4 separate regions of the Homo sapiens genome follow, and regions 1, 3 and 4 are each linked to region 2. Evidence: promoter capture Hi-C in 16 types of primary human blood cells and fetal thymus (Javierre and others, 2016). All regions are on one chromosome and are shown on one strand. The core of a region is centred on a gene start or on the middle of the fragment in contact, and the rest is flanking DNA. Distances in the headings are between cores, read along the strand shown.

The links. The method cuts DNA at HindIII sites, captures the fragments that hold promoters and counts their contacts. A CHiCAGO score of 5 or more calls a contact.
Region 1: a contact is called between a fragment that was not itself captured here and the fragment with the promoter of IGFBP5 in region 2, in 16 of 17 cell types (naive CD8 T cells, total CD4 T cells, neutrophils and 13 more). The highest score is 21.4, in naive CD8 T cells.
Region 3: a fragment that was not itself captured here is called in contact with the fragment with the promoter of IGFBP5 in region 2 in 3 of 17 cell types (total CD4 T cells, naive CD8 T cells and activated CD4 T cells); the score reaches 7.5 in total CD4 T cells.
Region 4: a fragment that was not itself captured here is called in contact with the fragment with the promoter of IGFBP5 in region 2 in 16 of 17 cell types (non-activated CD4 T cells, total CD4 T cells, naive CD4 T cells and 13 more); the score reaches 18.5 in non-activated CD4 T cells.

What each region holds. Positions count from the first base shown.
Region 1 is chr2:217,697,881-217,700,580 of GRCh38, reverse strand. All of the region lies in intron 2 of DIRC3 (disrupted in renal carcinoma 3), which reads left to right. Among named protein-coding and RNA genes, the nearest start is that of DIRC3, 91 kb to the left of the region's middle. The HindIII fragment of the contact is 3,270 bases long and covers 1-2,700 here.
Region 2 is chr2:216,694,069-216,696,892 of GRCh38, reverse strand. It overlaps IGFBP5 (insulin like growth factor binding protein 5), which reads left to right and starts at 1,344. Exons shown (of 4, transcript NM_000599.4): 1 at 1,344-2,454. The coding sequence starts at 2,118. IGFBP-AS1 (IGFBP5 antisense RNA 1) reads right to left here and starts at 2,447. Exons shown (of 6, transcript NR_187138.1): 1 at 2,132-2,447. The HindIII fragment of the contact is 8,390 bases long and covers 890-2,824 here.
Region 3 is chr2:217,774,919-217,777,777 of GRCh38, reverse strand. The region is part of intron 2 of DIRC3 (disrupted in renal carcinoma 3); the gene reads left to right. Among named protein-coding and RNA genes, the nearest start is that of DIRC3, 14 kb to the left of the region's middle. The HindIII fragment of the contact is 1,049 bases long and covers 946-1,994 here.
Region 4 is chr2:217,736,959-217,739,679 of GRCh38, reverse strand. All of the region lies in intron 2 of DIRC3 (disrupted in renal carcinoma 3), which reads left to right. Among named protein-coding and RNA genes, the nearest start is that of DIRC3, 52 kb to the left of the region's middle. The HindIII fragment of the contact is 2,399 bases long and covers 212-2,610 here.

The DNA.
Region 1 (2,700 bases), core at 53-2,552, 1.0 Mb before region 2:
TCGTGGGACTCACTCATTATCACAAGAAAAGCATGGGGGAAACTGCCCTCATGATTCAGTTACCTCCACCTGGTCCTGCCCTTGACACATGGGGATTATGGGAATTACAATTCAAGGTGAGATCTGAGTGGGGACATAGTGAAACCATATCAGTGACCTTCCTCTGTGTGGCTTCAGGATTTTGGTCCTTGTGATAATGATGGTTATGAGAGGACTCTCCCCACTTCCTCTGTGAAAATCCATAAGGGCTACCTCACATGGATGTCTGAATCTGCCAAGCCACTGCTGGAGCTGGGGCCACTACTGTCTTCTGGGCCAGTAGTTCTGATGTCCCAGTGGCTGGGTCCCAGGCTCTGTCTATGAACTTGCACTTGTTCTGTATCTTGTGCCAGGGCCTTTCTGCCCTAGACAACTGACATACTCCCTGTTGCTCCAAGCTACTTGATGATAATTTTTTCCAGCCAGGATAGAAATGGTTTCCTTTTCCTGTTAGGCTACTCTTCTGTGGTTCTCTCTGAGGAATTGCTTGAGTCCTTAGCTATCATGGCTATTTTAATGTATACACAAGACCTGTTCCTTTCAATGGGATGCTCATGCCATTAGGGTCCCTGGGACTGGAGTGGATTAAAGCAAGTCCACCACCTTGCTTCTCCCAGAACTTCCACTCTCAGCCTTGATGCCTAGGTCTGGGGCTGTGTCCCGCAATCCAGTATTTTCCTGCCTCCATTACAGATTCTCCTTTTCTGCTGCCCTTGAAATAGAGCTTCTCTTAACATGTTCTATCTACACACTTCAAATTAATCATGCTTATTTCTGTGTCTGAACCCCAAGTTTGGCCATGGATCAAGTTATTTCTCCAGGACATTCTAATACCCCGTGCAAATCAATGCTATGAATCGATATTGAGGAGACCAAAGCTGAGATAATACCTAACTTCAGGTGTTCAGAATAGCTCAATTCTAGTTTTGGTTTAAAAGCCTTTTTTACACAATGACTATGTTTTTGCCTTCTAGCAGCCCCTATCGTTTTCATTCTTCTCTTCTGACATAGTGCTGGGTAAATTTAATACATCTTTTACATGACAGGTCTCTTTGAAGACAATAATCGTGTTTTTCTGGAATGTTCTATTTAGGATACCTTAGCAAGAATGCTTGTCTGCTGGAGAGACCACATCTGGAGTTCTGAATTGAGATGCAGATCCTGTGTATAAGAAGGACATAGGAAGAGCTGTATGTCAGAGGAGGAGAAGCAGAGACTCCCACACCACGTTGTGGGAAGAACCTGCTTCGTGCTCAGGGGTCTTCCTTCTCTTTCTAGGCAGAAATGTCTAAAGAAACAGCCTAGCATTGCCGTGTCACCACTGAGCAAGAGACCCCCTTCTCATTAAGGAATTTGGAGTGAAATGACACAGCGCATGAAAAAGTTCTCTGTGGAGTTATCAGCATTTTTTCAAATAAATTATTTATATTTTTTGGCACTAAAATAGATTTAGCATGTCCTAGGGGTATTGATTGGCTTGGGCTGGATTCTGTGTGGAGGCGCAGAGGGAGGAAAAGTCCTGGTTTTAATGGAAGAAACATCCCAGGCACATGGGGGGAAAACCCAAAAACAAAAACAGAGAAGCATGATGTACCCAGCCCTCCTCAAAGCACTTGGGAGTTGGCACTGTGCACAGTTCTGGTGCTCAATCAAGGTTGAAACATAACCCAAACATTGGCGAGCCCATGGGCCAACTCCCTACATTTCTGGAATGGTCTTGCTGAGAACAAGAAATCCACTGCATCCACCAGAATTCTCTTTATTATTTCCCACCCAGGCTGCCTCTTCTATCTTGTACCGGACAGGACCCATTCCATTCTGAGTGCAGCTCTGTGGTCTGAGCACAGATGGAGGCCCGCTTCCCTCCCTCTCCAGAACTTTTTTAGGGAGGGTCCTGTATTTATTTTGAAGAAAGATTTTGAGTCACTATGGGGGAGGGTGACACACAAGGGCATGCTCAGCTGAAGGCTGTGATAAAAGATGCCCTCAGAACTGCTATGTGTAGGATAAGTAGGGAAATTTGTGTTGCTTCTGAGAAAGGGGAGTAAGGAGAGGAAAAAAGAGAAAGAAGTGAAGGGCAGCCAAGAGGTAGAAGAGACTGGCAGGGTTGGGGGGGGGTGATCCTGTCTCCTGAAAGGCTTAATATAAGTTATTAAAAATAACCGAATGGTTTGTGGGCATGGCCATGGGGTAGATGTGCCAGAGAAGGGGCTGTGTGTTGTACCTGCAATAGAATGAGAGAGGCCAGAGCCTGTGGCTGGGCTGCAGGAACTGCGAGAGAAGGTCTGAGCATGAATTATACTTGTTTCCTTGTTTATTTCTCCTATTGAACTTGAACTCCTTCCTTGGTGGGCTCTATCTTACTTGTCTTGTGTATTTTCAGTGGCAGCATACTGCGTAAAACAGAGAAGGCCCTCGATCAACACTGTTCAAAGGAAAGAAAGACAGAAGGATAGGCCTTTGCAGTAGAATCTTTTAATTTTGCAGGTAATAAAGGATGAAAGATAATTGAGAATGCCTCAGAAACAGCAAAGTCCCAATATTGATTTCTTGTAGTCTACAGATTCATTCAAAGGAAAATGAAATCAATTAAACTTTTCTTTAAATCTTGTCTTCCTTATCTTTGCAAGTCTAGTCCAGATGGATTGGTCTAGCGCAGAT
Region 2 (2,824 bases), core at 95-2,594:
GAAATGCAGCCCCTTCTCCAAAGGAAAGTTAGAATACTTCTCAAGGGAGGAAGCACAATGTAAAAGGTGTAACAGCCCACACCAAGTCCACCCAGCAGGGGCAGTGACATTGGTCATTTCTCTCTGACTTGCCTGTGAGGCTCATGGCTCACTCAGGTCAATTTCAGAAAAAGCTAAAACCACCACCTTCCTATTTCAAGGCCTTAGTTTTCTTTCATTTTATTAAAGAGGTTCTAGTGGCATGATTCGGTTCCTGGTCAGGACCTCTTCCAAGCAGGTCCTGTGGCCCTGTCAGCTCATATTCCTGGGATGTGCCTATAAGCACCAACTAACCTGTCAACCTATCACAAGGTCTCCTCCAGCTACTCTGCCACCCACTCCCTCCAGGGATGTGGCCCTGCCCAATAGAAATACCTCTGCAAAGTGACAGAGAGGGAAGTGTCACTCCAATCCACCTTTCTTCCCTCTAAGAACCCCACACACAAGGACACTTTAGGCCACCATGCAAGGTTTTCAGACTTAGCATTTCCTCCAAAGTGTCCATCTCTGCAACTCACTGCTCTCAATAATGCTGTTGTATGAATGTCCATTCCTGCAGATACACAACACACACACATACACACACACACACAGAGAGAGAGAAAGAGAGAGAGAACCTCCCTGGCCAACGCAGCTGAAGGCAACTGGTCACCTCTTCATCATGAGTACTGAAACCCCCTGATTAAATCCTCTTCTCCAGACTTTTAGGGGAGAAATTCAATTTTTTCTTCTTTTTTAAATTTAGCTCACCAGACATCACTGGCCATTCTACACTACCTGTCCCCCAAACACACACACACACACACCCCACATGGAAACAGACACCAGCATACAGTCAATTGCAGAAGCTTAGGAAGATTTCTTGGGCACGGTATATCCAGTTGGCTAATAAGAAAATACGTCTCCCTTCAGCCTGTGCCTTGACTACTTAAAGGATAGGAGGGAAGGGGAGACGAAGTTACTCTCCTCATTGTGTTCACCCTGCTCCGAAGAACTCTGTCTTCCACTGGCCCCTCCACCTCCTCCCCATTCTCGGTAGCCCCAGCCTGTCCCCCTTGCCCCTTTCTTACATTCCGGGGGGAGGAGGGCGCTGTTCAGAGGGGAGGAGGGCGCTGTTCAGGGAGCGAAGGGGAGCCCCCTTGTGTCTAGAAGGCCTCTCCCCACCCCCACCCCGTGTGAGTTTGTACTGCAAAGCTCCTTGGCATCCTTGCCTGAGTTGGGTGTTGGGAAGCTCAAATTGCAGCTACAAACTGGCTGGCAGCCAGGGGCCGGCTATTTAAAAGCGCCTGCTCTCCCGGAGCCCCGTAGTCTCTTTGGAAACTTCTGCAGGGGAAAAGAGCTAGGAAAGAGCTGCAAAGCAGTGTGGGCTTTTTCCCTTTTTTGCTCCTTTTCATTACCCCTCCTCCGTTTTCACCCTTCTCCGGACTTCGCGTAGAACCTGCGAATTTCGAAGAGGAGGTGGCAAAGTGGGAGAAAAGAGGTGTTAGGGTTTGGGGTTTTTTTGTTTTTGTTTTTGTTTTTTAATTTCTTGATTTCAACATTTTCTCCCACCCTCTCGGCTGCAGCCAACGCCTCTTACCTGTTCTGCGGCGCCGCGCACCGCTGGCAGCTGAGGGTTAGAAAGCGGGGTGTATTTTAGATTTTAAGCAAAAATTTTAAAGATAAATCCATTTTTCTCTCCCACCCCCAACGCCATCTCCACTGCATCCGATCTCATTATTTCGGTGGTTGCTTGGGGGTGAACAATTTTGTGGCTTTTTTTCCCCTATAATTCTGACCCGCTCAGGCTTGAGGGTTTCTCCGGCCTCCGCTCACTGCGTGCACCTGGCGCTGCCCTGCTTCCCCCAACCTGTTGCAAGGCTTTAATTCTTGCAACTGGGACCTGCTCGCAGGCACCCCAGCCCTCCACCTCTCTCTACATTTTTGCAAGTGTCTGGGGGAGGGCACCTGCTCTACCTGCCAGAAATTTTAAAACAAAAACAAAAACAAAAAAATCTCCGGGGGCCCTCTTGGCCCCTTTATCCCTGCACTCTCGCTCTCCTGCCCCACCCCGAGGTAAAGGGGGCGACTAAGAGAAGATGGTGTTGCTCACCGCGGTCCTCCTGCTGCTGGCCGCCTATGCGGGGCCGGCCCAGAGCCTGGGCTCCTTCGTGCACTGCGAGCCCTGCGACGAGAAAGCCCTCTCCATGTGCCCCCCCAGCCCCCTGGGCTGCGAGCTGGTCAAGGAGCCGGGCTGCGGCTGCTGCATGACCTGCGCCCTGGCCGAGGGGCAGTCGTGCGGCGTCTACACCGAGCGCTGCGCCCAGGGGCTGCGCTGCCTCCCCCGGCAGGACGAGGAGAAGCCGCTGCACGCCCTGCTGCACGGCCGCGGGGTTTGCCTCAACGAAAAGAGCTACCGCGAGCAAGTCAAGATCGGTGAGCGCGCTCAGTGTGCCAGTCAGTTACGCGGCGCACGGGCGGGGGACACGAGACCGGCTGGGCCCGCGCGCTTTGCGCAGCAAGTGGCTTCGAGCTGGGGTGCAGCTCGGGAGTAGTCGGGGAGGGTCCTTGCACCCCGGAATTGGAGCCCTGGAGGATCCTGCTACCCGGGGGAACTGTCTAGCCGAGTCTATCCCAGCTTTCGCTCTTTCTCCTTCCTCCTACCCACACGTTGCCCGCCCCCTCCCCCTACTCTGTCCGAATACTGATTCTGAGCTCTTATTCGGTCACAAGGTCCAAATCCCCTGGTACCCTATCTACAGTCTGAAAGAGTGTATGTTACATTATCAACTCCCTCCTCCACCCC
Region 3 (2,859 bases), core at 221-2,720, 1.1 Mb before region 2:
GAATATGAGGCAAAAAGAAAATCCAGGGACGTCACCACTGTGTCATTCCTAGGGTCTAAAGTCCCTACTGGGTCTGCCCTCTTCTCACCTTTCGGAGTTTCTTATTTGGTGTGTGTATATATTCATTCCAGAGTTTTAGTCATAATTAATAGGGGAAATAGGGAAAAGTGCATCTGCTCTATTTTCTCAGAAGCAGAAAAGTCTAGCTTTATTTTTATTTTTAAAAACTTGCACATATATTTTGAAAAATAATTAAAGTGATACGAGCACATGCTGAATAAAAGTGCTGTAATGAAAGTCAAAAAGCTCTGAAGAACAGGTTACCTAATTTGCGGGTCCCAGTGCAAAATGAATAGGCAGGGCCCCTTGTGTAAAATGCCAGGAGAAAAAAATGCCATTAAAGATACTAAAATATAAAGCATTTTCCTTTCTTTCCTAGTTGTCATGGCATTTTAAAATTGGTATTCAATTTCATTCTAAGTACAAATAAAAAAATTATTTGTATGATAACATTCGTCTTTATATTGTGCAATGCCAGTTTTAAATGTAAATATAAGAATATTTAACTCACAAGTAAAATCACTTAAATTACACAATTATTTATAGCTCATACATTCAGTGGAAATGCTAACCCAAACAAATTCAACTGTTTTTATTTTATTTTATTTTATTTTATTTTTTATTTTTAACTGGTACAAAGTAATTGTACATATGAGGGGACTTCAAAAACTTCATGGAAAATGTGTATTATGAAAAAATGATGCATGAATTTCCAACTTTTTTGTACCAAAATGAACTCATACTAATTAGTTACAGCATGTCTAAACAGGATCTAGCTTGAGGCACTAAGAAGGATAAGGCCTCAGATTGACAAGAGCCCCTATCAGGGCAACATGAATTCTGCTACAATTAAAGCAAGAACAAACATATGTTTCTGGTGAAGCTTTGGTGAAAGAATGGTGAAGTCACTGATGCTTTACAAAAAGTTTATGGGGAAAATGCCCCAAAGAAATTGGCACTTTATAAATGGATAACTTGTTTTAAGAAGGGATAAGAAAATGTTGAAGATGAAGCCTGTAGAGGCAGACCATTCACATCAATTTGTGAGGAAAAAATTCATCTTGTTTGTGCCCTAATTGAAGAGGACTGATGATTAACAGCACAAACAATAGCCAACACCATTGCCATCTCAACTGGTTCAGCTTATGTAATTCTGACTAAAAAATTAAAGTCGAGCAAACTTTCTACTTGATGGGTGCCAAAACTTTTGTGCCCAGATTATCTGCAGATAAGAACACAACATTCAATGGAAATTTTAAACAAGTGGGATCATGATCCTGAAGCATTTCTTTGAAGACTTGTAACAGGAGATGAAACAGGGCTTTACCAGTATGATCCTGGTAGATGGCTTTACCAGTATGATCCTGAAGACAAAGCACAGTCAAAGCAATGGCTATCAAGAGGTGGAAGTGGTCCAGTCAAAGCGAAAGCAGACTGGTGGAGAGCAAAGGTAACGACAACAGGTTTTGGGAATGCTCAAGACATTTTGCTTGTTGACATTCTAGAGGGCCAAGGAGTGATAACATCTGCTTATTATGAGAATGTTTTGAGAAAGTTAGCCAAAGTTTTAGCAGAAAACCCCTGGGAAGGCTTCACTAGAGAGTTCTTCTCCACCGTGACATTTTTCTTATTACACAAGTGCAATTTTGCAAGTGTTTTGATGAGAAATCATTAGGCATCCACATTACAGTCCCGATTTGGCCCCTTCTGACTTCTTTTTGTTTCCTAATCTTAAAAATCTGTAGAGGGCATCCATTTTTCTCTGTTTAATAATGTAAAAAGACTGCATTGACATGGTTAAATTTCCAGGACCCTCAGTTCTTTAGAAATGTATTAAATGGCTGGTGTCATAGCTTACAAAAGTGTCTTGACTTTGGTAAAGTTTATGTGGAGAAATAAAGTGTATATTTTGATTCCATGTTTTCTCATAAGCTTTTTGGAGTCCCATTGTATTTATGGGGTACATGTGATATTTTGATACCTGCATACAGTGTGTAATGATTAAGTCGGGGTATTTAGGATATCCAACACCCCAAACATTTATTTCTTTTGTTGGGAACATTTCAAATCTTCTCTTCTAGCTGTTTTGAAATATGCAATAAATTATTATTAACTATAGTTAGCTGTCTGTGCCATCAAATTATAACCTATTTCTTCCATGTAATGATATGTTTGTACCCATTAAATAACATCTTTTCTTCTTCTACTCCCACCTTTCCCAGCCTCTGGTAACTATCATTCTACTTCCTACTTCCATGAGATCAATGTTTTAGCTTCCACATATCAGTAAGAACATGCAATATTTGTCTTTCTGTGTCTGGCTTTTTTCACTTAACATAATGACCTCCATTCTATCCACGTTGCTGAAAATGACACTATTTCATCATTTTTAATGACTGAATAGTATTCCATTGTGTATACAGACACCACATTTTCTTTATCTGTGCATCCTTTGAAGAATACTTAGGATGATTCCATATCTTGGCTCTTTGAATAGTGCTGCAATAAACATGGGGGTCCATGTATCCCTTTGATATACTGATTTCCTCTCTTTTGGTTAAATACCCAGTAGTGGGATTGCTGTTTTGTGTCACTGTTCTATTTTCAATTTTTTGAAAAACCTTCAAACTGTTTTCCATAATGGCTGTACTAATTTACATCCCCACCCACCAAAATGGATGAGTTCCATTTTCCCTGCATTCTTGCCAGCATTTGTTATTTCTTGTCTTTTTTGTAATAGCCATTCTAACTGGAGTGAGATGATACCTTATTGTGGTTTTGGTTTGCATTTTCCTAATG
Region 4 (2,721 bases), core at 162-2,661, 1.0 Mb before region 2:
CTGAGTAGTAAGATCACCTGTGAGAGTGGAAACGTTTGCAAGTTGCCTCTCCCTGGCTGGTAGCCCATCTCTTTCCTTCAATCTCTCTCTTTTTTTTTTTCTAGTCCTGGATCAAGAATCTGTCATTCAGATTATTCCAGAGCCCCTGCCCCAGTTCTACTTATGCCTCCTGGATGCTGAGCTGACAGGCGTGGTGAGGCTCTGGCAAGCTTCTGCCTTCACACCCATTCCCCCAAGCTCACTGTCTTACTTTGCTCTTGGGAATCTTGTCTACATTTTAACAAACATCAGTTCACATAGCAGATTTGAAGCAATGAGGGACAGGCTGGGGAGGGGAGATGTTCTGGGATGGGAGATGCTTCTCATTTACCCTGTGGGTACCTGCCTTTTGGCTGGTCCTGAAACTGTCAGTATTCATCGTTACCATTCATTGAGCAGCTATTATGTGTGGGGCTCTGTACTGTCCTCTGAGGGTATTATCCACATTTTCCAGCTGGAGAAACTGAGATTCTTGCCTAAAGTCACAGCTTTGGTGAGATGCAAAACAGGGATGGAAACCTAGATTTGTCTGGCTTCAAAGCCTGTGCTCTTACCCAGCATACTCAACCATTTATTGGTGGCCAATGGTCATGAGCAGTTACCAGGATACCCTGTACTTATTGCTGTGTTCCTGGACTGGTGCTAAGTGCTTTAACTGGATTCCTACATTCAATTGGCCGCTGTTACACTCACAGCTTTGGTGGAGTTAGTCCTCAGATCTGAGCTGCGTCTTCCCCATGGGGCTGCAGCCCTCAGAAGGCCTCTTGCTGCCCAGGGCCACAGCGTGACTTCTGTGGGCACTTCGCCCTCATGAGTCCTACCCCTGGAGAAAAATATTAAAATTTATACTTTATGACTACATTGGCATAAAAACAAATGTAATTCCGGCTGGATTCATGATTGTATACTCATTTGTATTCTATTCATTTTTTCTTCTGATTTTTGAAAGACAACTAAAATAAAAACATTTTTGAGGGCCCCTAGAAATATTGTGGCTTCTAGGCACTGCACTGTGCCTCATGGAGAAGTACGCCCTGCGTGCTGGAAGTGATGGGCAGTCCTAAGAGTCTTGTCCTGGGAACTCCTCTGGACCCAGCAACCTCTGCTGCCACCTGACCTAGAGCCCAACCCCACTCCTTCAGCCGAGCAGCCCTAAGGTAAGGGAAAACCAGGATTGCCTCTGCCCTCTTACTCCACCCCTTCCACCTTCTCTCAAAGTCCTTCCAAGCCTCGTAGACAATCAGCAAAAGAAAGTCACCCCTCTAGGCCCTTTTAAAGACCATTTAGGCCCCCTCTGCCTCCCCAGCACAAGCTCTTTGATTTCATCTCCTTCTCTTCCCTGTTTGGAAACAGCTGACTTTTAGGAACTGCAGTGACCAGGGCAACTCACCCCACTTCCCAGGAAAGTCCCTCTTTCCTTCTCTCAGAGAAAGATTGGAGGCTGCTCTGGGATTAGTGCTGCCGGCTCCCTCCCCGAAGGCTTTGTACCCTGCAGCAGTGGGCTCCCAGGGCCTCCATAGGGAGAAGTGCCTTCTCTGCTCAGCCTTGACTTCAGAGGGGCCCAGGGTGGGAGTGGGAATGGAGGGCTCCATTTCTTACTTCATTCCTCCATAGTATATGGCTAAGTATTCAAGAATTATAAGCAAAGCTGCAAACTTGTATGTTCTTTCTTTCATCCTTGACAAAATACTGTTAACCAAACTGAAATGAAGCCAGGTAAGATGTAAGATATTGGCATTTATTTGGGGGGTCTTAGGAATTGTAATTTGGGAGACATAATACCTTTTATGACAACCTAGAAAATCAGCTTCTAAATTTAGAACTTCAGACTCTGCAGATACCTGAGCTGGAATATACTGGAGCAGGGAGGACTGTCCCTCGCCCCCGCCCACCCCTCTGCTCCTCCTACCCAAGCCCCCAATTTGAATCTAGAGTGTCTGTGTGCACACAAGGGTAGGAGTGGTGGTGGTGCCAGCTCTTGCAGCCCAGCCTTGCTGCCCCTTCAGTCTAGGGGTGTGTGTGTGTGTGTGTGTGTGTGTGTGTGTGTGTGTGTGTGCGCGCGCTAGAGGGGTGGTTGGCTCCAATCTTGCAGGGGGACACCCTGGGCAGAGGCCCAGACAGGAACCCAGAGTGTGTGGTTCAGAAGGAAGCCCTGAGCTTTGGTCTGGTATCTTCTCTTGGGCCTGTGAAATCCTTGCCCTGTGAAGAGCCCCAAGGCCAGAGGAAGGCCAGAGTGGGGCCTCTAAAGAATGGCCCAGTCCAGGAACCCCTGTTGTTTGGCTTTGAGGGAGGCGCTGTCCTCAGCCTCTGCTGTCTGGCTATCAATTTAGATCTGCTGACTCAGCTTATGAGGGGTTTGTTCATGTCTTAGGGCATGTGGCAGTGGTGGCCTTTTGTTACACATGATTGACTCCCACATCCTGGAATGGAATAGAACACATTGTTAAAACTATTGATGAGTGAAGTTGTAAAAAGCAAGTTGAAAAAGAGGCAAACTCCTAAGTACAATAAAGTAGCCTTTTCCCTAATATTGTTGGCAGATGGAAAATTGGTAATTTCATAATCAAAGCTTTATTAGGACATTTCTTGTGACATGTCCACTTAAGTTAAACCCTACAAGGATATGAATAACTCTCAAGTTTCATGCCAACTCTTATTACTTTGTAAATTGAGGAAAACACC